Linked DNA regions of Homo sapiens: regions 2, 3, 4, 5, 6 and 7 are each linked to region 1. The links are contacts of gene promoters, found by promoter capture Hi-C in blood cells and fetal thymus (Javierre and others, 2016). All regions are on one chromosome and are shown on one strand. Each heading gives the region's core, a stretch centred on a gene start or on the middle of the fragment in contact. The rest is flanking DNA. Distances are from core to core; before and after follow the strand shown.

The links. Contacts are between HindIII fragments. The CHiCAGO score rates a contact against its expected background, and 5 or more counts as called.
Region 2: a contact is called between a fragment that was not itself captured here and the fragment with the promoter of BARD1 in region 1, in 1 of 17 cell types (fetal thymus). The highest score is 9.9, in fetal thymus.
Region 3: a contact is called between a fragment that was not itself captured here and the fragment with the promoter of BARD1 in region 1, in 1 of 17 cell types (activated CD4 T cells). The highest score is 7.2, in activated CD4 T cells.
Region 4: a contact is called between a fragment that was not itself captured here and the fragment with the promoter of BARD1 in region 1, in 1 of 17 cell types (fetal thymus). The highest score is 7.3, in fetal thymus.
Region 5: a fragment that was not itself captured here is called in contact with the fragment with the promoter of BARD1 in region 1 in 3 of 17 cell types (total B cells, naive B cells and fetal thymus); the score reaches 23.9 in total B cells.
Region 6: a fragment that was not itself captured here is called in contact with the fragment with the promoter of BARD1 in region 1 in 3 of 17 cell types (total B cells, fetal thymus and naive B cells); the score reaches 10.3 in total B cells.
Region 7: a fragment that was not itself captured here is called in contact with the fragment with the promoter of BARD1 in region 1 in 5 of 17 cell types (fetal thymus, naive B cells, total B cells and 2 more); the score reaches 20.8 in fetal thymus.

What each region holds. Positions count from the first base shown.
Region 1 is chr2:214,807,722-214,811,140 of GRCh38, forward strand. It overlaps BARD1 (BRCA1 associated RING domain 1), which reads right to left and starts at 1,962. Exons shown (of 11, transcript NM_000465.4): 1 at 1,691-1,962. The coding sequence starts at 1,848. SNHG31 (small nucleolar RNA host gene 31) reads left to right here and starts at 2,508. Exons shown (of 4, transcript NR_110292.1): 1 at 2,508-2,711. RefSeq lists enhancers at 901-950, 1,241-1,320 and a silencer at 1,871-2,440. The HindIII fragment of the contact is 4,673 bases long and covers 1-2,689 here.
Region 2 is chr2:213,190,827-213,194,356 of GRCh38, forward strand. LOC107985981 (a long non-coding RNA gene) reads left to right here. Exons shown (of 5, transcript XR_007088069.1): 3 at 1,475-1,503. Among named protein-coding and RNA genes, the nearest start is that of LINC01953, 25 kb to the left of the region's middle. RefSeq lists an enhancer at 1-210. The HindIII fragment of the contact is 5,176 bases long and covers 1-3,530 here.
Region 3 is chr2:216,502,967-216,506,357 of GRCh38, forward strand. It overlaps RPL37A (ribosomal protein L37a), which reads left to right. Exons shown (of 4, transcript NM_000998.5): 4 at 1-1,120. Among named protein-coding and RNA genes, the nearest start is that of RPL37A, 5.8 kb to the left of the region's middle. The HindIII fragment of the contact is 527 bases long and covers 1,240-1,766 here.
Region 4 is chr2:213,051,666-213,055,334 of GRCh38, forward strand. All of the region lies in intron 5 of IKZF2 (IKAROS family zinc finger 2), which reads right to left. Among named protein-coding and RNA genes, the nearest start is that of IKZF2, 98 kb to the right of the region's middle. The HindIII fragment of the contact is 4,308 bases long and covers 1-3,669 here.
Region 5 is chr2:213,155,418-213,158,926 of GRCh38, forward strand. LINC01953 (long intergenic non-protein coding RNA 1953) reads right to left here. Exons shown (of 4, transcript NR_146974.1): 3 at 1,610-1,700; 4 at 399-513. Among named protein-coding and RNA genes, the nearest start is that of IKZF2, 5.6 kb to the left of the region's middle. RefSeq lists an enhancer at 1,870-1,939. The HindIII fragment of the contact is 451 bases long and covers 1,625-2,075 here.
Region 6 is chr2:213,172,355-213,176,042 of GRCh38, forward strand. LOC105373864 (a long non-coding RNA gene) reads left to right here. Exons shown (of 3, transcript XR_923851.3): 3 at 1,712-1,916. Among named protein-coding and RNA genes, the nearest start is that of LINC01953, 6.5 kb to the left of the region's middle. The HindIII fragment of the contact is 3,670 bases long and covers 58-3,688 here.
Region 7 is chr2:213,129,521-213,132,939 of GRCh38, forward strand. The region is part of intron 4 of IKZF2 (IKAROS family zinc finger 2); the gene reads right to left. Among named protein-coding and RNA genes, the nearest start is that of IKZF2, 20 kb to the right of the region's middle. The HindIII fragment of the contact is 910 bases long and covers 1,185-2,094 here.

The sequences.
Region 1 (3,419 bases), core at 712-3,211:
CTCATATCCGGAAAATGAGAGATGAATAACTTGGCCTACTCAATAGTGTCAAAGCTAGAACCTGAACTCAGGCATTCTGACCACAGTCTAAGTGAAGCCCGATGCTTCCACATAGGTATGTGCCAAGGGAATGTCTAACTTTCGTTGGACTATCAAGGTGTGAACTATAATGCTTCTGTTATTGCAACTAGCAGTGCCAGTTTTAAATTTCCTATTCTCAGATGACCCATGTGCTACAGGAAAACAAACACACAACTCAAATGTCTTCATGTACTCACTTATCTGAGTGTCACTTTTCTAAGAAGTGCAATGTCATTTTGTCACAGATATTAAAAGTTTTCGTCAAAGAAAATATAAGTGCAAAACTCTGACAGTTAAGTCCTTTTCATTTTTAAAGAAAAAGTTTGGCCGGGCACCGTGGCTCACGCCTGTAATCCCAGCACTTTGGGAGGCAGAGGCGGGCGGATCACGAGGTCAGGAGACGGAGACCATCCTGGCTAACACGGTGAAACCCCATCTGTACTAAAAATACAAAAAATTAGCCGGGCATGATGGCGGGCGCCTGCAGTCCCAGCTACTTGGGAGGCTGAAGCAGGAGAATGGCGTGAACCCGGGAGGCGGAGCTTGCAGTGAGACAAGATCGTGCCACTGCACTCCAGCCTGGGCGACAGAGCGAGACTCCGTCTCAAAAAAGGAAAGAAAAGAAAAAGTTGTGTTACTTATACTTTATGCAACTAGGTAACTTAAGTTCTGCAAGTTAGAAATCAAAGGGGAAAAAAGTCCAAAAAGGATATAAACTTTTGACAGCTACAAATAACAAAAAAACTGCCAGTGATCTTCATACAGAAATACTTAGCTGTACACACAGCAAGTGCTCAATAAAAATGCTTTTCAGAAGAAATGAAAATGAGACAAACCTTTCTTGGGTTTTACAAACCTTCTTGGTTTGTATACTAGAAAGAGCTACACGAAAAAAAGCAAGAAGTAACACTCATGAAAATGTCTTTGGACGGAATGAAAACCCTGAGAGGACTCCCATAATGTGACAGCATGAAGGAAAACAATAAACAGCATCACTAAGAGCGGGGACACCAGACATACAGTCTTTTGAGCAAACTAAGAAAATGAGAAATTCCGTGCCATCTTCAATCTACAACTATGGTAGATATCCGATGCTCCATCCCATCTCACTCGAAAAAGCTGGCACGGAGAAAATGTCAAAAAGGCCAGTTTAACTTAGAGTGGCAGCTGCTTCTAATTTAGAGGGTCTCCGGGGCGGCCCGCCAGCCCAATTCGCCACAGCTCCCGGAAAGCAGCGGGGTAATCCAGGGCCGGGTAAAAAATGCAGAAGCCTCAGCCCCACCCCAGCCCGATTCAAACTCTGGAGGCGCGACCGGGATGAACATTTTTTTAGCCACACCTCCAGACGGTTCTTCAGCCCGCTGAAGTTCAAAAACTACCGTTTCAGTTGGATTCAGGGCAAGGGGAGGCCGGTAAGTCGCCCAAAAATAAAGTGAATGAGAAGCAGAAGTTGTTAATACTATATCCCCCGGCAGGTGCTAACCGCACGCCGACCCGACTGCAGCGCGGGAACGGAAGGAGGAAACGGAAGATTTGAAAAGATTCTGCCGCCCCCAGAAACTGTGCGACCCGTGCCCTCGCAGCCACCCCCAAGAAGCTCCGTCTTTACCAACGCGAGCAGCGCAGCAGCTTCTCCAGGCGGTCGAGCGCGGCGCGACTGTGGGCCCAGGCACCGCGACCATCCGGTTCCATGGCGGGCGCGGAACGAGGCTCGTTCCCGGAGCGGATCCTCGGCTGCCGGTTCCTCGGCTGCCGATTATCCGGCATCGTCCCGCCTTCGGATGAAAGGCTCCTCGCAGAGCGGGAAGCAAGGAAGCCTCGGGAAACCACAGGGAAGCTGCAGGCCAGCGACTCGAAACCGGCCAAGCTCTTCCCGCGTCTGGGACGGCGGGCCGCCAGAGGGGCGGGGCGCGCGGGGAGGGGCGGGGCACGGCGGCCGCAATGCTCCCAAAATAGGGACTCGCAGGGCACAGGGGCGGGGCCGCGAGAGCCAGCCGCTGGCCGAGTGGGCGGGACCTAGGGGTGGGGCTGGAGGCTGAAACTTGCCAAAGTCCCGGCGTGTGGGACTTAGGGGAGGGGCCGCGAGAGCCGTGGGACCGAGGGGGCGGGGCCGGACGGCTGAAACTTGCCAAAGTCCCGGCGCGCGGGTCCTAGGGGCGGAGCCGCGAGAACACGCCGGGGACAGAGGGGGCGGGGCCTAGGAGCCTCGGGGCGGGACAGGACGGTCGAAACCGAAGTCCTGGCGCGCGGGGCCCAGGGGCGGGGCCTAGGGGCCTCGGGGCAGGACAGGACGGCTGAAACCGAGGTCCCGGCGCGCGGGGCCCAGGCGCCGTGCAGTGAGAGCACGCCGCTTGACCGAAGGGGCGGGGCCTGAAGGCTGAGCGCAGTCGCGAGGCTGTAGTTGGCAGGAGAGCGGGCGGGGCCTGAAGCCCCTCTGGGCTGCCTGGACGGATGAAGTCCAGGTGGAAAGCCAGTCGACGTTTCCCGGGAGCTACGACTCCAGGGACCCTCATCCGAGCTTAACCGTTGGAACAATCACAAACCCAGAAACTTTTAGCTGAGTGTTATTTATAAAAAGCGCTGTTTTGACTGCTGTTGGACTTGGAAAAGCTTTGCCCACGATACTGAAGGTACCACTCTTTGTTCCTAAGAAAGCAACCTTTTCTTTCCTCTCACCTCAGCTGTGGCGTATATTGTAACTGAGTAAAAATAAGGAAAGTTTCTAATTCTAACTAGTTAACAAATATCAGCTCAAAGGCATGTCTGAAAAGATCTGGTTTACTTTTAAAATATTGGTATAAAATTTCAAAAAGGGTTTTTTTTGTTAGAGAGTGTGTCCACCTTCCTCCTCCAGATCTTTCACTGATCGCCGTAATTTACAGATAAGACCTACAGAGCAACCCGTCATGCCTTCCTGCCGCGCCCCAAGTTCATTTCCAAGTCCTTGCATTTTTTCCCCCTAACTTGTCTCGAATGCACCCATTTTCTCTCCGTCTCTGCTCCACAACATCCCCAGTTGCCTCGTCCTCGCCTGGTTTCCTGTCGTAGCTTTCTAGCTGATATCCAAGTGTCTATCCAGGTCCCAGCCAGTCCCGAGACTGCGGTGTGGCCGCCTAAAACATTTCCAAACACAAAACTCATCGTGGCACTTCCCTTTCTTAAAACTCCTTAAAGTTTTTCTCTGCTCTTTGACTAGCCTCTTGTCAAAACCTCCTCTGGCCATCATGGTCCCAACCCCACAGTGCGTTCCCTTAGGTCATTAAAAGCCCCTGCACCTTGCTGCCTCATGGCTTTTGCGCAAAGATTCACTTTGGAACCTGGAATTGGCCTCCTCTCCA
Region 2 (3,530 bases), core at 322-2,821, 1.6 Mb before region 1:
TTTAGAGGTGATATTTCAAATCAATGTACTGAATGGGTTTTCCAAAAAAATGTTTTGGAACAAATGGCTAGTGTTTGCAAAAATATAAGAGAACCCTGCCTCCCACTTAATTATATTTTGAAATTTAAGGCTGGGCACGGTGGCTCACACCTGTAAACCAGAAAAGCCAGCACTTTGGGAGGCCAAGGTAGGAGGATCACTTGAGGCCAGGAGTTCAAGACTAGTCTGGGTAACATAGCAAGACCCTGTGTCTACAAAAATTTTTTTTTTTAATTTGCCAGGGGGATGGTGCCGTCTGTAGTCCTAGGTACTTGAGAGGCTGAGGAGGAAGGATCCCTTGAGCCCAGGAGTTCTAGGCTGCAATGAGTTATAATCACCCACTAGACTAGAGCCTGGGCAGCAGAGCCAGATCCTGTCTTTGTTTTTTTTTTTTTTTGAGACGGAGTCTCGCTCTGTCGCCCAGGTCAGACTGCGGACTGCAGTGGCACAATCTCGGCTCACTGCAAGCTCCGCTTCCCGGGTTCACGCCATTCTCCTGCCTCAGCCTCCCGAGTAGCTGGGACTACAGGCGCCCGCCACCGCGCCCGGCTAATTTTTTTTTGTATTTTTAGTAGAGACGGGGTTTCACCTTGTTAGCCAGGATGGTCTCGATCTCCTGACCTCATGATCCACCCGCCTCGGCCTCCCAAAGTGCTGGGATTACAGGCGTGAGCCACCGCGCCCGGCCCCAGATCCTGTCTTTAAGAAAAACAAAACAAAACAAAACAGAACAGAGATTTGAATGAAAAGAATAAGATTATAAAATATGAGGAGAAAATTCAGATTAACGATGCTACAATCTTGAAATGGGGAAGTGTATTAGTCTGCCAGGTCTGCTATTAATATAAAAAAAAACCTGTGGCTTAACAGAAATTTATTTTCTCAGTTCTGGAGGCTGGAAGTCCAAGGTCAAGGTGTCAGCAGGGTTGGTTTCTCCTGAGGCCTTTTACCTTCTCCCTATGTCTTCAGGTGGCCTTTTCCCTGAGCATATGCATTCCTGGTGGCTCTTCCTCTTCTTATAAGGACACCAGTCACTGGATTAGGGCCTCACCCTTAAGACTTCGTTTAACTGTAATTACCTCTTTAAAGCCCCTATCTTTAAATAAGCCACACTGGCATTCAGCTTTCAACATACACATTTTGGGGGATGCAATTCAGTCTGTAACAGGAAGTATTTTCTAAGTATCACCTCAAAGACAGACCAGTCATTGATCTTACTAGAAATCAAAGGTGTTTAAAATAATACAAATCTCATTTTTTATTGATTTGATTTTTAAAAAATTGATGTCTTAGCATAAGTAAGATTATGGGGATACAGGGCAGTATAAGTACTCTCCCACACTGTTGGTGGGACAGAACATGGATATAAATACTGTGCAGGGCAATTTGGGTTTTGTAACATACTAAAAGAATGTGTTTCCTCTCCATTTCTTAGATTTGTATCCTAAAGGAGTAGTCCAACGGGTGAGTAAAAATATATGTGCAAGAATGTAAAATTGTATCAGATAATGAAAATAGGAAACAAATTTGGTGTTAGTAAATAGGGGATTAGATCAGCCAATTAAGATACCAGTTACCCAGTAGAATACTTTTTAGTCATTAGGGAAATACATAGTAAATCAGTTTTCCGGGAATGGACCTAGAATCTTTAACATGTTATGTTAAGTGAAAAAAATAAATTATAGTATGTTCCCATTTATGTAAAAAATATAAATAGAAGTATACATGATGAAAAGTAGTAATATATGATCTGAATTACTTACACTGAGCATAGAATATTTTGCTAATCAGAAAGGCAAGCTATTTTCATTTTTAAAAACAACCATTTGTAGAAATGAAAAGCATATTCCATATATAGAAATACATATTTAAAAAATAACATAAAATGGGAATAGATAAAATACATTTGCTTGATGAGGGGGCTCAGAAAATAGAGGAAAAGAAGTCTTATAATATCTATCAGCTTAAACATTTGGGAAACATGGACTTAGAGCTTTCCTGGGAAAGTTTTAAGCTGTCTGAAGATGGAATGTCGTAAGTAAGAAGGGCCCCTCGACACTTGACGAAAAAGAGTTTAAGAAACATGTGGATAGTGGAAGAGGAACACCCTGCCAAACTAAAATTTTGTCCCCAAAATGTATCTCTTAAAGTGGAAGTCTATCCCTACTATGTGCAGAGTTTCAAAACTGATAAACAATTTAGGATTAAAGAAAGTTTTAAGTAATTTCTCTCTTTCATTATGCATGAAGTATTGTTTTCTCACTACATAAAGCATTGCTTCTGAATTGTTTAGTTTTTTAAAATAGACATTTAATTTTTTAATGGACACTTTAATGGACATATTTAAAAGATTAAATATGTTCATACTACTTATGGCATAGGAAGTTCTTTGCTGACAATCTGTATTATACCTAATATGATGTGATTTTTTTAATTTTATTTTTTGTCTTTTTACTTCCTACCAAGTAAAAAGTGTATTTTAAAATACGCAAAGTTCAATTTTTACAAACTCAATACTCAGTCTGTTGTGTTGATCCCACAACATACTCATGATGCTAAAAATTCTAGGCTGGCATTTCAAATGGGAGTGAAACAGCATACTGCACAACTTTCAACAAGCCTAGTGCCAAAAGATGAAAAAATATATTTTCATTTATCATGAGTCCATTTAAGCACCAACATGTATGACTTTAGCATTTAGTGTCAAGAACAATATCAACAAGTAAGGGATGATTATTGGATTTTGGTCACATGTCCTACTCCATACCATCCCATCTGTTTTGTTTTCCTTTATAAACATGGTATATGCAGGTATGGAGCCTCACCTTCACTTTGCTTTTGTATCTGTTGAATGAAGAGTTTTGGCACTAAGGGTACAGAAAGAAAGAGCTGAGAACTTTGTAAGAGAGAGAATGAAGTGCGAAGGGAGTATAGGCTCTGTGGAAGGTGAACTTCCAGCCCTGGAAGCCGGAAGAATAAAAACAAACAAAAAATGGAAAAAATGTTTTAAAGGTGAAAATTGCTAAGTACAAGGGAAGTTTTGTATTCAAACGCTTCTTAAAGGCAACTACTGCCATTTTTTTTCCCTAACAAACATCCAACAGAAGTGCTTTTTTTTATGGAATGTGTTATTTAATTCATGATATTATGAGTCAAGCACTGTACTGAAAATTTCCATTATATATTTATATTACTTTTAAGAAAGAAAAAAGTTGTCTTTAAATATATTTTATATAGATTTAAAATTAGTAAAAGTATTCAGGAGAAATCAAAGCAATGTTGGCTTTTTAAGTGTCAGTATTAAGAAATTAAAAAGGATGCAGAATTAGAACAGTAATTTAAGCAATCCAAAAATAATTTAATATGCTAAAACATGCATACTTTTAGATTATAATTGAATAAAATTGGAAGTGAGCACTTACAAAAATTTTGTGAATATTTAGATATACGTTTAGTCAATAAATTGAATATGAGTTAAATGAGCACAAGAT
Region 3 (3,391 bases), core at 253-2,752, 1.7 Mb after region 1:
TGTCACAAAATGGTACTCCTACTGATTTTGTAATGTGAAGCAAGTACTGTGGGTCAGTAGGGGTAGGACCAGGAGTGACAAGTCAGGATTTTCAGGCTTCATAGGAATGACACAGCTCTCCAGGTGAATCTCCTGGAGAATTCTCCATAGGATCTCCAGGTGAGTGACCAGGATTTCATGTAAGCATAGGGAATTGAATGAGCATTAGATGGTCTAATGCTGCGGTTAAGAACACCAACTTAGCCAAACTGCCTAGATAGTTGGGTGACTTGGGTTAAGTGACTTAACCTCTCTGCTTCAGTTTCCTGTATAATTCTTGGTAGTAGAATGGAGTATATGCTGGGTGTTTGGATTATTAATTTGGAGTCTTACAAAGCTGCTATGTTACATGATTAGGCATGGAAAACTTCGGTTTTTATAATCAGTGAAGTACTGCTTTTTGTTTGTTTTCTGAGAGAGTGTCTGTCACCCAGGCTGAAGTGCAGTGGCATGATCTCAGTTCACTGCAGCCTCTACCTCCCGGGTTCAAGCAGTTCTCGTGCCTCAGCCTCCGAAGTAGCTGGGATTACAGGCTTATGCCACAAAGCTCAGCTAGTTTTTGTATTTTTTATTTTTAGTAGAGATGGGCTTTCGCCATGTTGACCAGGCTGGTCTCAAACTCCCAGGCTCAACTGATAACGTCTGCCTTGGCCTCCCAAAGTGCTGGGATTCTGTAAGCCACCTCACCCAGCCATGTATTGCTTTTTTATGACAGTTAAAAGAGGAAAGGGCGGGGGACAGTTTACAGACCAGTGAAAGTGCTGAGATAAATATTTTTATACCTAAGGAAATAGTGATTTTCCCAAGATGATAGGGAGGCAGGTGATGTAGATAGGGCTGAAGATTAGATTTCTGGCTCCTATCTGTGATTTTCTGCTGTACCAGTCTGCCTTCTATTTTATGGGCTCAGTATTCCTTACCTGCCTCTTCCCATGCTAAAGATGGCCCACCTTCGTTTTGTTATTTAAGCAACTTCATCCCCTGGCTTGTTTTCACAGTGGTTTTCTGAGCCTTTGACTCTAAGTCATCTAATTGAACATTGTGTTGTGATATAAAAAGTAAGTTAGGCTTGTGTTTTTCACCAGGCCATTTCATTGTATCCTAACTAGGCGGGTGGCTGTGATAAATGTACAGATTAGCCAATACAGAATCACGTCTAATTCCAAGTTTTCTTTTGGGTATGAAGTTGAGACATGGGGAAGCTTGAGCTTTGTTTTGTCAGCAACAGGTGAGGTGGAGAACTGGGACTGAAGGGGTTTGGGGAGGATCTGTTTAAGATTGGAAAAAATACATCAACTTGGGAATGTAAGCAACTAGAACCAAGCAATCTGTACAACGTTTTTACTGTTGGCTGTCTTCCTCTGGGAAACTAAAAGCCATTTTGTTGATAGCACTTCAGGTCAGAATTCATCAACAGGGAATGGAAACATTGTTTATATGCTTTGGGGTACATCAAGATAAGTTGAGGGTCAAGTTAATGTCATGCCACAATCAACCCTGTATGTCAGGGCCCTTGAGAGCAGAGTAGTGTCGGGAGAGTGGGTGGTATGGTTGACACAAAGACCCACAGGTATTTTTATGGGTTCACTTAATGAAGCAGGGGCTTAGTTGAGGGTAGAGACTGTTCATTAAACCAGCCTTTGTTGACCACTCCCTGCAGTATGGACAGGACATGATCACCATCCTTAAGTCCCACTATAGCAGGGGGGAAACAGTATGCTTAATTAAGCTTAATTATAAACTCTTTGAGTTAGAAAACTGGTGAAAGTGTTATTTCCTCCTGAAGTAATTATGTATATATACATGCCAATTCCAATCAGAATGCTAATTTTTCTTTTTAACCCCAGAGCTGTGCAAAATGTTTCTCAAATTTATTCAGGAACATAAACAACAGTTGGAAAGGACAAGAACTGTCTCCAGCATAATGGTTAAGAATGTGGAGGCTGAGGCAGGACAATGGTATGAGCTGAGACTGCACTGCAGCCTGGGCGACAGAGCAAGACTCCGTCTTAACCAAAAAAAAAAAAAATAATAATAATGTGGATTCTAGAGTCAAGCAGGAGTTATTTGGTTGTTCTGCTATACTAGTTGTGTGACCTTGGAGGAATTATTTAATCCTCTCCTGAACTTCAATCTTTTTTTTTTTTCCCCCGAGATAGAGTCTTGCTCTGTCGCCAGGCTGGAGTGCAGTGTCATGATCTTGGGCTCACTGCAACTTCTGCCTCCTGAATTCAAGCGATTCTCCTTCCTCAGCCTCCCAAGTAGCTGGGATTACAGGTGTATGCCACCACGCCCGGCTAATTTTTAGTAGAGATGGGGTTTCTCTGGCCATGTTGGCCAGTCTGGTCTTGAACCCCTGGCTTCAGGTGATCCACCCGCTTCGGCCTCCCAAAGTGTGGGGATTACAGGCATGAGCCACCGTGCCGCCTAATCTTTTCATCTGTAAGATGGATATAGTAGTTTTCCTCTCAAACAGAACAAATTAGTTAAATTTGGATCTAGAACACTTATAGGTTCAGGAACTGTAGATCTTGGAAAGACGAATAACACTTTGGACATAATGCTGTTTTTCAAAGATGGGGTGGTGGGTGGGTGTTGGTGGGTGTTAGAGGGTGCTATCAGGCCAAAGGAGAAGGAATCAGGAGGGAAACTGCCTATGGCAAAAGCATGAGTTACGATGTCAGGGGAAGGGAGACAACAGGGTTCAGGCCAAGGAAGCCTTTCTGTTTTTGGCCCAAGGAGCGTCAATAAGATCTTTGAAAATACTTTGAAGTCATTTTGTGTGTGTGTATGTGCATACACACCTGATTTGTTTTATTTTTTATTTTTATTTTTTGAGTTAGGGTCTGGCTCTGTCGTCCAGGCTAGAGTGCAGTGGTGTGGTCTCAGCTCACTGCAACCTCTGCCTCCCAGGCTCAAGCCGTCCTCCCACCTCATCCTCCCCAGTAGCTGGGACTACAGGTGTGCACCACCTCGCTTGGCTACCTTTTGTATTTTTCATAGAGACATGGTTTCACCATGTTACCCATGCTGGTCTCAGACTCCTGAGCTCAAGCAATCCACCTGCCACAGCCTCCCATAGTACTGAGATTACTGGCATGAGCCACCGTGCCCAGAATATGAAACACTTTTGAGGTTCAAATCTCTTTGGAATCTTAGGATATTCCTTGTAAGAGGAAGGCTTATTTTCCTCTTTTCCATAGGATCTGCCTTTCCTGTTTATATTGTCTATGGGAAATTGTTGTATGGGCCTGTTTGTCATGGGTTAAATTGTAGCACATTTGTGCTAAGGATCAAATAATACCCTATTTTCTCAGGGGCTTCTCTTAAGTATTTTAGTGTAATTTTTGAT
Region 4 (3,669 bases), core at 286-2,785, 1.8 Mb before region 1:
AATTTTCCACTCCCAACCCCTGCCATAGTAATAAAAGGAAAGATGGAGGCACTTCTTTCACAAATTAAATTTTTAAAGAAAAAGGAAAATAGCAAATATATATTATACTTTTCACTCCAAAAATTTGATTTTACTTTTAAAATATGTCTACGTAAGGTTTCCCAAGCAAGTAACAAATTCGTTAACAATAACTTTACAAGAGTTAAATTACTAAGTGTGGTGAACAATTTGAAGTCATGTCTGCCTTTAGATAATACTCCTATAGCATGCTGACTCCAATTTCCTTTAAACCTCCTACAATGTTTGAGTTGAAATATTTCAAAATCCTTAATTTAGAGTAGTTCATTCTTCAAAAATAATGCTAGTCTAAAAATGAAACAATATCTTTTTTAAAAAGAATTTTAAAATTCACCTAATTGAGTTTTATGCGATTAATGAAAGGGTAATTTAGTTTTTACATTTACAAAATACTCTAGATATCTTCAAATCTTTTTAATAAGAAATTACTTCTGAATTTATATGATCATCCCCAAATGGCGTAGAATAAACAAAAGGTAGTCTAGGTATATCTGGAAATATTGTCCTGTTGCTGAGTGTGGAAGTCATACTATGGAAGTCTTTGGTAAGTTCCCAAGGACATGGGAAGTAAAGAAGAACAAGGCATGATGAAGGTAAATAGTTTTCTTCCTTTTTTTGGTAAGAGAAAAGGGGCATTGAAAATAATACATTTTAATTTCAATAAGATAAGGCTTTGGGAGATATTGATTTGAATTATGAATAAGTCTTGATAGATGCTTTTTACATTTGGATACTAATTTTATGGCTTTCCTCATTTTATTTGCCTAACTCCTGTTGATGTCTTGATTATATGAAAAGATAATTATCATTTCAAGAGTCCACTTGTTTTATTGTGTTCCAAACTAAAGTTAGTTGGAATCATAATGAAACCCTCAAAGACAATACTGTTAGAAACAAGGATTAAAACAGAGGGTAATTTATGAGATTTCTAAAAGTATACATAGTTATATTCCAGGAATAATCCAAATATAGAAGTAATATCCATATCTGTCTAATAACAAATAAAAAGTGAATTGACTCAATTTTTGATAAAGTTATTTCTATAAAACATTAGCAACCCTTTTATTGAATGTCGTGGGGTATTTCCTGGCCTAGGCATTACAGAATAAGTGTAAAATTATCTGATAATTAAGTAAAAGATTCAGTTAACTATCTTTTCTCTATGCAAATGGTACATATGCAAAAACTCCATACTGTCTATGAAACTTTAAAACAACATATCTCAATTATTTCTTGTAAATAATTTGTTCTTTAAATGGACTGCATCAATGTGCCCTTTTTGAGTCAGTTTAGACTTTGTCTGAAAAAAATATTAATCATGTTCTTCATATGTATATCAAAGCAAATTTTAAGAAAATCTCACAAATTTACTAACTACATTAATGGAGCAATCCAAGCTGAAAACATTAAGTAGTTTGTTATAACCATAATGACTAATCTTTCCCCTGGTAGGCACAAAAATCTAGACTAACAAAACTGGATCGAGGAAAATAATTAAGATATGGTCATGTGTCCTTCATGTCCATATCTCAATCTGTTGTTTTGTTTTTATTTTTAAATACAATAGAACAATCTACTGGTCCATTTTTATTTATTGACTGGGTGAGATTATATATTATTTTTATTATGGAATATCTTATATTTCAATATTTTATGTACCTTCATAAACACCTATTTCTAGACCTGCATTTAAATATTCAATTAAAATGCAAATATATATGCATCAACTTGCTTTGGTGAATCAAAGACAGAGGGTGCTCCTATGTTGGGTGGAACAACCTACAAATATGCAGAATCTCAAGCATCTGCTGAGTGCCTTTGAGCAAGAGGATGGCTGCACAAAGCTGCAATGTACAAAATACGGTGCTGAAAACTGAGTTACAAGATGGGAGTAGATTAAGGAGAGGCAAAATTAGGGAATTCTATATGTATAATGTCCAATCGATATGTGTTCATGCATGAATTGATTTACTTTCCCTATTTGTTTACTCTTCTCTCTATATTCCCAGTGAAGAGTGCCTGGAGTATCCGATGACAATATTACCTGATTACTTACTAAAGTAGCAATACCAAATCAATAAAATGAAACCATTAATAAGACACTGCAATTGGTACTTTAGTAGAGTATGACAGAGAAAGAAGAAGAGTGGATTCGATCTGATGCTCCATGATATTGTAATGAATTGGATGGTTGTGCATCTTTTTTCACTATCAATTTTATATTAGAGGCTGGGCACGGTGGCTCACGCCTGTAATCCCAGCACTTTGAGAGGCTAGGGTGGGTGGAACAACTGAGGTCAGGAGTTTGAGACCAACATGGTGAAACCCTGTCTCTACTAAAAATACAGAAATTAGCTGGGCCTGGTGGTGGGCACATGTAATTCCAGCTACTTTGGAGGCTGAGGCAGGAGGATCGCTTGAACCCAGGAGGTGGAGGGTGCAGTGATCCAAGATTGCACCACTACACTCCAGCCTGGGCGACAGAGCAAGACTCCAACTCAAAAAAAAAATTATATTAGATATTCTATGAACTAAAAACACTAAAATATATGTTTCTCAAAGGCATTATAAGGTTTTAAGACAGTATCTTTAATATGAGAGATAAACAATTGATAAGAGTGGGAAGTTCTAAAATGCAGACTAGTTCATGGTATTAAGGAGAAAACATTTGGCTAATGACTAGATTCTGACTACATTTTTCTCAATCTAGTTTAAATTAAAGAAATGCAAATAGACTTTCTAGTCTCAAAATGGTATTAAAGTGGTGTTGAAAATGGCAGGACACACTCAGATGTATAAACTGGATCATCAGAAATATGTTGAAGTGTCTAGTTTAATGATATCATGTCCACAATTTCAAAGTTGACAAAGCATGACAGGTATCACAGCTTCTCCGTAAATGGCTATTAACTTTAAGAAAAATCTAGATCTGAAGAAAGTATAATAATTTGCACAATGCTCCAATAAACACTGATTGACAAAAAAAGATAGTGTTGCAAGTGTACTTTAACATACTCCTTGCTGTTATGAGTTGAGTGAGTCTCGTATTCCTAGGATTTGTGGAAATCTGTATAACTGTTTATAAACTTTATTATGCCAATTAGATTATTTTCAAAAATAAAATAATTCAACTCTACCACACTAGTAAATAACAAAAGGACAGTAGAGTAGGTATATAATTATTATTTTATTTACAAATTAACAATCCTCATGAATATTATTGTAGCTACAGTGAATCACTGATTAACCTAAATTTTCTAAAAACTGTACTCTGGTTCTTTGAATTTTCTTAATTCAGAACATAAAAGATCAATTAAAAATCTTCTAAATACTGTTTTTAGTTTATTTTTTAGCTTAAAATTTAACATTGCATGCAATTCAACTGAAAAGCCATTAGACTGACTGTGTTTTGTTTGTATTTTACTAGATAGGAGAAGTTACACATTTGAATGAGTGTTATCTTCCTTAATACAATCACTCTTACATAATGAATATATTATAACTTTGTGGAACTTGTTTTTAGAACTGTCGTTAGAATTAGTTCATGAGCGTAGATGAAAAGTAGATTATTTTATAGTCTTTTCCCTTTAC
Region 5 (3,509 bases), core at 600-3,099, 1.7 Mb before region 1:
AAGAAAAATTTTACAAGGCAATATAGCTAAAAGGTACATTGTGGAGTATTGGTTTTGTTTTCTTTGGGTAGTTTGTTTTATCTATTTTAGATTTAAAAGCCCTAAGTACCCTTTAAAGGAATTTGGGTAAAATCCCCTTTTGTTTGCTCAAGGAATTAATTGTACGTTTTTAAGTTTTGGGGGTCTTTTTAGCAGAAGGTGGGAGGGGACAATTTGGAAAATTATAATTCTTTCCTAAAATCAAAGAAGAAATTTTTGGAAATGAATTCTATATTTTTTTATTTAAATGGCTTTATTGTGCTAGATATATAATCAACCAGAATAGGTACCCTAAAATAACTTGAATCCCTGAAAAAGTTAAGAATAACAGGCACACATAAGCACAATGTTTTAAAACCGATAACTTCTTTTATTTTTGTCAGGTGATGTTGTTCTTGTCTTTGAAGTAGTGTTCTCTTTTTAAGCGGGATATGGAACAATGGTCTCACTTACTCCTGTTGACCTAGATTGGCACTATGAAGAAGCAAGAAAGCCAAAAATGGAACTACCTTTTCAAAGAAAATATTCTAAGATACCAAATCCAGTTCATAAGTAAAGCATATAAATACTGTCAAACTTTACTTCCCTGAGTGCACTGATAGTCTGGGGTCTATTCAGCTGGCATATAAGTCCCACATGCTGAGGGTCTTCTAATTCCATCTACCTTGAACAATAGTTTCTTTTAACAGTCTTAAGAGTGTCACTTTGCAATTAGAGATAAGGCTCTTATGCAAATACTCATGTCCCTAAAAAAGGTAACATTATGACTTAAATTCACACGTTGATAGAATACTATCAGATTTCTTCCAGAGAGAGTGTTTTGCTGTAGAGCAGGTGATAAGCTAACTCTATCCCAAATGAGAATGATAAATTACGGGAGTTAAACCAGTGGGGTGAGGACCAGAGAGGTTCCTGAAAAAAATGAAAGCACACATTTTTAAAGATGTCATTAAAACCCACCATAATTGCTTTTAAAATGCAGATTTGTTCAGCATTTGATAAAATGAGTTCCATTAATGCAAAAACAAGGGAATTTTGAACTGGGTCAAGTGGTGATGCTCAAAGTCAACTCTAAAAAGGATTGAGAAGAAACCCTAAAATTTTAGAGCACAAAAAGTACAGGGAAGTTATTGGAATCCTCAATGAAGTGTTAATTCAAGAAATGAAAAAGATATGATTCAACTTTGTAAAGAAATAACTTACCAAAAGAGGGTAACAAAGGAGAAGACGCCTGGTGAGCATTAATTTAGATACAGGACAAAAAAAAAACTCATTATTTGGAATATTTTTCCGCAGCTACATGCAAGAGATTAAAAAGAAACTTATTTTGCTGGGGACCAGCAGGAAAACCAAACATAATCATTTGACTTTGGAATTGGGAGGTGAAAATAGGACAGATTAACCTAACGATCTGTGATATCAAAGGTTGGATTCTGCAAGAGAGATCCATACTCTAAAGCAGAGTGATGACAGGTTGCATCTCAAGGGAAACATTTGGTGGTTAAACCAGTGCCAATAGCAGTATGATACTGTCTTTTTAATCCTGTGAAAAGCTTGTGGAAGTACATACCCAGTGTTTGTGAGAAGCTTCAACTCTTTATAAACCAAAATTCTTTCACAGTAAAGCAAAGTCTAATCACTTGCTTAACAATCCTGTTAAGCTGAAAAAAAAAAAAAATAGAGGAACACATTACCAACAGATAGTAAAGGAAATAATCCAGAGAATTCACCTTCCCCATTTTTATAGCCAGATGGTTACAACCTAGGGAATTGAGAACCATATAGGGATAGAACTGGGGAGCCATTTTCTGTTTTATAACTCTGAAAGAGGGCGTGAGCTATGGAAAAGGGAATTGAATCAAAGAAAGGTCATTTACAAGTAGTAAAGTCAAATGTCATCTCCCCCAATTTTCATGACTGTGGTTTAGAAAAAGGTTAGCTTAATATAGAACTTAGTGTGGCATTCTGAACTGTCGTAAGACATGATAAAGGAGAGAGTAACACCATCAGTGTATCTCCCCCAGCAGCTGTGCCAAAGCTTCACAAAAGTATTTAAAACCTGACGTCATGGTGAGGTACTAGACACCTGGGAAAGTCCCACTCAGTAGACTAAGAATATCACTCTAAGTCCTGTAAACTATATTGCAGAAATGGCCACATTGGAAGACTGTACTTTTGAAGTGTACTATTATTGAGAAATAAATCCATACGAAGAATCTATAGCATTTTAAATTGATGATATAACTGATTTCAATGAAGTTAGAGTATCAGTGGGACTAGGAAAGTCACATATATCATTTTTATAATTATATCCATTTATTTCGTGCCAGATACCATGGTAAGCATGTTACATGCATTATCTCATTTAACACCCACTGTCATTTTAAGAGAGGTAATACTACCCCATTTTTCACATGAAGAAAGCTTGGAGACAGTATTAACTTGTCCCTGGTCCCACAGTTTCAGAGCTAGACAGTGTCAAACACATATTTTAAGTTCTAGAAAGCCCATATTCATAACCATCATACTATAGTCTCTCTAAATTGCCAATTATTTTCATCAATCATACAGACGTCTTACTGTAGTTAAATCCAGCCTTATGAGTAATACGCAGTCCACTGTTGTATCTCTTGAAAGCATACTGAATGTCCAGGGTGTTTTAAGAAGGTTAATTGAATGTGGTATCAACATAGAACTTTTTACCAAACCCAGAACTTATCTATGTGTGAAACATTACCTATTTGGCATTTAGTATGTTAATATCAGATGTTTATTAATATCTAGAGCTCTTCTCAATAAGTGAATGACATGAGAGAATCACTGAGAGTGAATTGAAAGAAAGTCACCCTATGAAGAGTTGAGTAACAATCAATGGTGACACAGAGATCCAGATAAGAACATAACTTTAAAGTCTGGGTCACCAAGCATATTTGCACATTTTATTTCAAAGGGGACCATTTCAGATTTATTACTCCCAGAAACAGATGGATCATACGGCTGCCTTTTGTAGACATACTTCACCTACATGTGTAAATAATGAGTGCATGGCTTTCTGTGATAAACACTGTAATTGTAAATGGTTACGGCTTCTTAAACGATATTTCTCAGGAAACAGATTTTTTTTCCAGTGGAGAACAGCTCTCAGTTTATAGTAAAAGTCAAGTTGAACATTTTGCTAGGGTTTATACATGAAGCTTGTGAAATTAGAATGTTTCTCTTGTTTTTAATTTACAAATACAGTGAATACTGGAGTAGAGAAACGTAACTATATTATTTTAATTAGGATTTCCTATCCCATGCGTGTAGAAGTTACATATTTGCTCTCTCATTACAGGTTATTTTTTCTAAGAACAAAAAGAAATAATGCTTTTATTTGATAACAAAGACACTATTTACTTGAAAAGCCAATCAGTGATTTTAGGGGAACTCTGCTTAAGGGTATTTTGAATAACCTAACCCAGAAGAGCTTC
Region 6 (3,688 bases), core at 643-3,142, 1.6 Mb before region 1:
TTTTAGCCTAACACATGATTTCTTTGGCACTACAATTTCTTCAAAAATTTCTTAGTAAGCTTCTGATCTATTTGCTTCCAGTTAATTCCATGTGCCAAGGTTTTTATTAGATGTAGTTATTCAACTCTCCTTACTCTTTGTTTCCTAGTCCTGTTTCTTCTTCAGCTTGATGGCAGGTACCTTGAGGCTATCTGAAACAATATGCTACAGTGGAAAAGTATCTCTCTTAATCTGATGTTTACTGAAGGGCTGAGTTGTTTGAGAAATCTCACCGGCTCTTTGTCACTCAGGACCATTTTTTATTTGGGGTCCAAAAGCTATCAACTTTTCAACCATGTAAGGCCCTTGATCTCTGAACTTTCTTCTGTCCATTCTCTGCTTGGAAATCAGCTCGAGCTCACCTGAGTGCATATCTTTCTTGCTTAAGTTCTGGCCAACTCACTAACCCTCTGACAGTTCCAACTACTTGCCCTAGAGCCACAGATTCAGTAGATGTGTGGTCTGCTTTCCAAGCTCTCCCATGACAGCTTTACTGAAAACCTGCTGAGACACAGCAGAACTCTCCAAACAGCCAGGCTGCTCTATCATAGCCTCACTTTCTGTTGGCCAGCCACTAAATTAATGCCACTTATTTTTGGATATTGTGATTATAGTAGCACATGTCAAAGTACCAATTTCTGTACTTAGCAAGGTGGAATAGCTACTGTAACCAAACACCAAAATCTCAATGCCTTAATATACTAATAGTTAATTTCTATTGACATAACATATTACTGTGAGTTTATAATACCAGGCTCCTTCCATCTTTATTTTATTTTGAATGACCAAAACTTATATTTTTGAAAATCTTGGTTTAAAACTTTTAGTTGCAGCAATTAAAAGACCTGTTTAGAAGTTTGGTTTGGCTGGGTATGGTGGCTCAATCCTGAAATCCCAGCACTTTGGGAGACTGAGGTGGATGGATCACTTGAGCTCAGGAGTTCAAGACCAGCCTGGGCAACATGGCAAAACCTGGTCTCTACAAAGAATACAAAAATTAGCCAGGTGTGGTGATGTGCGTCTGTGGTCCCAGCTATAGGGAGGCTGAGGTAGGAGGATCGCTTGAGTCCAGAAGGTGGAGGTTGCAGTGAGCCAGGATCACGCCACTGTACTCCAGTCTGGGTGACAGAGCTAGACCTTGTCTCAAAACAAATAAACAAGTAATTTGGTTTATTGTAATGCTTAGATTTAGTGCTTGTCATAGTTAAAGACTCCTTACAATCAGAGGCAGAACTAAATGGAAGAAATATATATTTGTCTGCACTGAAAACATCATAATACTCTGTTTTCAGTCCTACTCACCAATTTATACAAAGATGATTTTGAAATTTTACTTATAAATTTCAATTTCCATCTTAATGTTAGTAGTTCTTACAAAGTAATCAAAGGATTGGCTAGTTTGTTTTTGACAAATGTACTTCAAACATACTGTAATATTTTTGGCATGTCAGAAAATTTTGTATTTAAATTTTTTAGCTATCAGAATATGAAAAGTGTTTTTAAAGATGGCAGATTTACTTACATTGCTTCAGCTGTAAAAGAATGTTCTAGTAGACACCATCCCCAAAATCCCTTTTCAAAATGTATATTCTTTTTGAAAGTAATTACTGTTTCACTTATTGTTAAAATATTACCTCTACCATTAAGGAATTGCTTATTTATATTTTTGCAGGTATCTATTAGGCAGTATAGCCACTGGCTATGACAGAAAATGTCACCAACCAGAAGCTGACAATCAAGAGAGCCCTTTCTCAGGGCTAAGAAGAAGGAGTGAAAAATAAATCTAGAGGGGCCAATGAAAGATATCTGACACACATAAAATCAGTCACACATGGGTGAACTGTAAGAGACTGAAAGTAAATAAATGAATGAAGTTACCCTTGTCAAGCCCTCCAGTTATGGAACTCCTCCATTTCCCTCAAAAAACCTCATATAATCACATGTGAGAAAAGACTGTTAGGGTCTCTAATGGGGCCTCTTTTCTAAACAAACTGAGAAATGAAGCAACATGTAACATATGAAGGCAAATTCTCATGTTTAGTATTATGAAATCTAGATTAAAGAATGTAGCTTAATATAAGTACCAGATGGGCCTGCTACAAAGACCCCAGATATAGCAAATTTACCCAATCCATTTAGGTGTTGCTATAGAGAGGCAGGTGTCCCCCAGGGAGAGGACAGAATTCCAGTAGTCCAAGGAGAGGACTGACAGTATCGGGTTGGAGGGGTAGAAAGACCAAGACTTTGCCTAGTAAAGTCCCTTCTAATAGAAACAAGGCTTGTGAAAACCATGTTCCCTTCTACTGAAGATTGGCTAACGAGCAGATCTAGTGAGGATACCAGGGTCAACTCATATAGTAAATATCAATAAAGTGTAATGTATTTCTTTTTAGATAAAAATAAATAGAAGTACAAGTTCTAATGTTTTCTTTCTTTAACCTGAGGGATTTTTCTGCAGACCTCTTAGGGTATACCACTTTTGAGGCTGTTGGGCTGAAATGTGCACTATTGGACCACTATTGGCAAGTTTTGTTCTAGCCCAGTTCCTGGTAATAATCCTGGCCAAAGGTGGGAAGAATTTCATGCTGTGGGCAAAATTTGCCTCAGGCACTATTTTGACTTTCATCCAGGTGTCCTGGAATCTGACTTAGTCCCAGTACCACTTCCAACCAAGCTCCAGGCCCATCTTCCACTGAATATGTCCTCTAGCTCTTTGTGAATAGCTCAGCAGCAACATGTCATCACTGCTTAATTCGAAACTGACTGCTATTGACAGTGTGTCAGCCTTATGATTATATATGAAGGACAATATATTATGTCAATTCACTTAAGTCTTTATCTCTCATGAAGGTTGGAATGGCTTTTATTTTTTATCTGATTGACTCTCAGCAAATCAAGCAAGAGGTCTTAAAAAGAAAAAGTAGAAATATCTTACAATTCAATTGATACAATGGATAGAATTTTCTGTTCCTACTCCAATGTCGTCATAGTAAGAAAAGAATTTGAAACTTGAATTTGAAATTTGAAACTTGAAAGACTAAAATGGGAGACTAATGACATTTACGCTGTCTTCTATCCTTTTTTTGTTGTTAGAATCTATTTTTTTAAATAAACTTTTACTTTTAGATTAGTTTTAGATTTACAGGAAAAAAGTTGCAAAAACTGTACAACTGAACTCTACAATTCACTCTCAGTTCCAAAACCACCTTCAAAGTTTTTTTTTTTTTTTACTTGTTTGGTTGTTGGGATTGGTTTGCTTTTCATTTTTTGAAACCACATGCATTTAATGTTACTTCAGGGCAATAATCCCAAGATTTGTGTAGGGAGATAACACTGCCATATTCCAGGGATTTAGGGTAATAAAAACACCCTGCTTAGTTAGAATAAGAATTCAGAGCCATGACCTCCGGTCTTCTTAAGTAAATACAGGAGAATTTAAAGCTGCCCTCTGGGCAAATATTTTAGGGGCTGATGAGCATTTACCTTCACTTAAGATATAGCTTGTCATCAATATACCCAAGTGACTGACAATTTCTATTTACTGTTTAATAAAAATGAACCCAGAATCCACTGAAGTTCCTTGTCAACTCCAGGACAAAAAAGGAGGTACATCTTGATGAGCAAGTAGAACAACATTTTAAAGTCTAAG
Region 7 (3,419 bases), core at 390-2,889, 1.7 Mb before region 1:
GGGAAAGAATAGAGAAGAGGAAGTCAGAGATGGAGGCAGGGCCACAGCCTTTAGGACCTTACAGACTTTGGAAAGGAATTTTAGTTGTATTCTAGTTTCAGTGGAAAGCTTTTGTGTTTAAAGCAATGAATTGTTATGATCTGATTTGGGTTTTAGAAAGTCAGGCTCTGTCTATTGTGTGGAAAACAAACTACAGAGAAGCAAGAATGGAAGCAGGAAGACCGGTTAAACTGTTGCAATATTTTAGGCTTAAGGTACTAGGAAATGATGATAGACTAAAGTTACAGTAGCGGGCCTGGTGAGAATTGTTTAAATTCAGGATGTATTTTAGAAGCAGAGCCAAGGATTTCTGATAGACTGGATGTGGGATTTCCTTTGAGGAAAGAAACAGTGCTAGATGCAGAGTTGAAAGTCATGAAAGCATCTACAGTATCTAAAGAAATAAACTGAGAAAGAGAGAAGAGGACCTGTACATAAAGATATACAGGCTGCAAATAGATGAAGGTGAGTACCAGATGTTTTCTGCTCACTAAGTAATTGGCAGCTATTGATTGTAACACTTCTAATGAAGGCACACCTTCTCTATTTCTTCTCTTTAGATAGGGACACTAGATCTTGTTGTTCTATCAAAAGCTTCTAGTTTTCTGATGTCCTCTAACTGGATCATTTCCTTTATCCCAATAGCCAGTAATCTAGAAAATAAAAACACTTGGTAAAAACAGAAACTCAGAAACAAAAACTAATCACTAAGCTAGGGTCTCTCACAGGCAGGAAAGAAGTCAAAATACCAAAGCATGAGAGCATTTTAGAGCAATAAATGCTTTGTTATAAACTGACAAACACAATTAATAGACATCAGTCATCAAAGCTGTGCCTACCTAGAGACATGATCCTGAGAACACAGTAAGATCCAAAATATCCGTAAACTTCACACTTGAAAAGGAAGCATTTGGGGGAGCACTGAAGTTCCCCACCAACCTTAAGACCCACCCAAGCAGGGAAAAATCAATTTTAATTGTGATTTAAAATAATCTTACTAGTAGCTGAAAGTATTTTACAGTAATTCAAAGGAAAAAAATGTCAAACAGAAAATTACAGATTGATTACCACAAACAGTTCTTTTTGGCACATAAATGCATATGACTTGATTATCATTAAATTGCTACTAAAAATATATGGATACAAGCTTGAATTTTCAGTTCAGTTAGGATTAAGTACATTGCTTTCCTATATATGCCAGTTAGATATTATGGGCTTAATTCACAGAACCATACGCCAAGCAAATTATATTTCATGAGCTTCCAAATAACACAAAATTTTTTTGTAACGTTAAAGAAAACAGTGAAAGAGATACAATAAAAGATTACTTCTTAAGAAGATGATCTGTTACAATGTAAACAAAGAGAATACATGGTATTCTTCAAGCTATTAAATATACTGCCTTATTTCTTGCAGCTATAGGAATGATTACAAACAAATGCTTGTAAAACTAGATAATGATTGCTCATGTAACAAATTGCTTGGACATATTTAAGCAAATATTTCTAGTAAGAATTCAACTGAGGGGGAATGTAAATGTTGGGATAAAACTGGGGGAAATATCTTTTGTAAAGATTGTGTATATGAACCCAAGTACTGTTACAATAATTGTAGACAAATGTGATAATTATCACAACTCCTCTAAGAAAATGGAGGTCTGGCTCACAATCTGGAATCAACAGAACTGTCTTAACAGTTTTAAGGGAGAGCCATTTGATTCATAGGATTCTAAATGATCTTTGAGATTTAGCTACTGGATTAAAGTTTATTAAAAACAACATTAGAATTACATGTCATTTTCATGTATATCTACTAAATGACTGATTTATGACTTGAAAGATTTGGATCATAAAGATCAGAAATATTCATTACTCAAAATAATAATAGTAACACTAACTTTTAAATTGTATCTTTAAGATTTTCCAATAATACCTCTGACCTGTTTGTATATACATTTCAAGATTCTCTAGGTATCCCTTAAAGTGTTTTATAAAATCCATCTCTAAATTCTAGAGTGACACTGGCTGAAAAGATGTATATTTTGAAGCCATGTGAAGCTTTTGAAGTCATGTACTTGAGAAGCTTTTAGTCCAATGTAGTATTGTTTGAATGAGTGTTGAGAAAAGAGTTAAAAGTTGTCTAAGCTAGAGCCATCGTTAGAGCATTTATTTTAAAACTGCCTTCTGGGTAAGACTAGCTGGGTGATTTGGTCTCTGGTATCCTCAACACAGATAGCATAACTGAAGTAACCTGTGGGGTTAATCTGAATAATAATGTCTGGAATAACTGAGAGACGTCTCTAATGCATTCAGTCAATCAGATAACCAACACATAGGGATATTAACTCACAATATATTTTAAAATAAACAGCAAATCTTCTTAATTGAGAGACTACTATGTATAAGGCACTGTGTTAGCTTCTGTGGAAAAGATAAATGAATATTTCTTAAATTATTTCTTAAAATGTATTAGGCCCTGTGATAAAAGCTTTACTAAGTTTATTAACCCTCACAACAACTCCAAGAGACAAGCACTAACTTTCCCTATTTTACAAATGAGGTAACTAAAACACAGCATAGGAAAGATACTATCCCAGTCGGTTAGGTGCTAAAAGTCATATTCTGTCTGCTACCCTCAGGCTGCAGAGATTACAAAGTCATTTTCCCTGCCCTCAAGGAGTTTCCAGTCACACAAAGGAGATAAGATGTACTCAAGAAATTAAGCAATGATAAAACAGGATAGGAGGTGATAAAGGCATCCAAAAAAAAAAAAAAGATCATTTGGAATTAGGGATCGACTGTCCTGTGCCTATGACAATAGTAACTCTGACCCAAAAAAGGTGAAACTTCACTCAGGAAAATGTCTGTTTATGTGTACTCTAATGTGAAATCCTTTTAAACTGAATATTCTGTTTTCTCCTTGATTCTACACAAGAGAGAAAAAAAGAACACTGCTGGGGTATGTATATGTGGTTCTGAGAATTCCAGATATGCAACAGAGACATGAATTTAATATAACACATAGAGCACCATAAGTATGGAAATTAATAAAATTTCAGAGCTATACTAGGAATTCATTCACCAACACATCTAGTTATACAAGTAAATAAGTCCATCCTAAAAACTCACTCTGGACAAGGTCACCTAGGGAGGTACACCAAGCAGCCAAGACCTGCCAGCAAACACATCTTCTGAATTGCCATCCTCAAATGAAATGCATTACTACCACTTAATTACCATTTCAATTATACCCGTCACAAACAGAGTAGGTTTATGTGTGATTCAATTTAATTAGGTAATTTTACTTTCATTTCTTCAGTAATTGATTTGAATACAACAGAATTAATAATTGTCTCATATCTGCATACACATTTCTTTTCA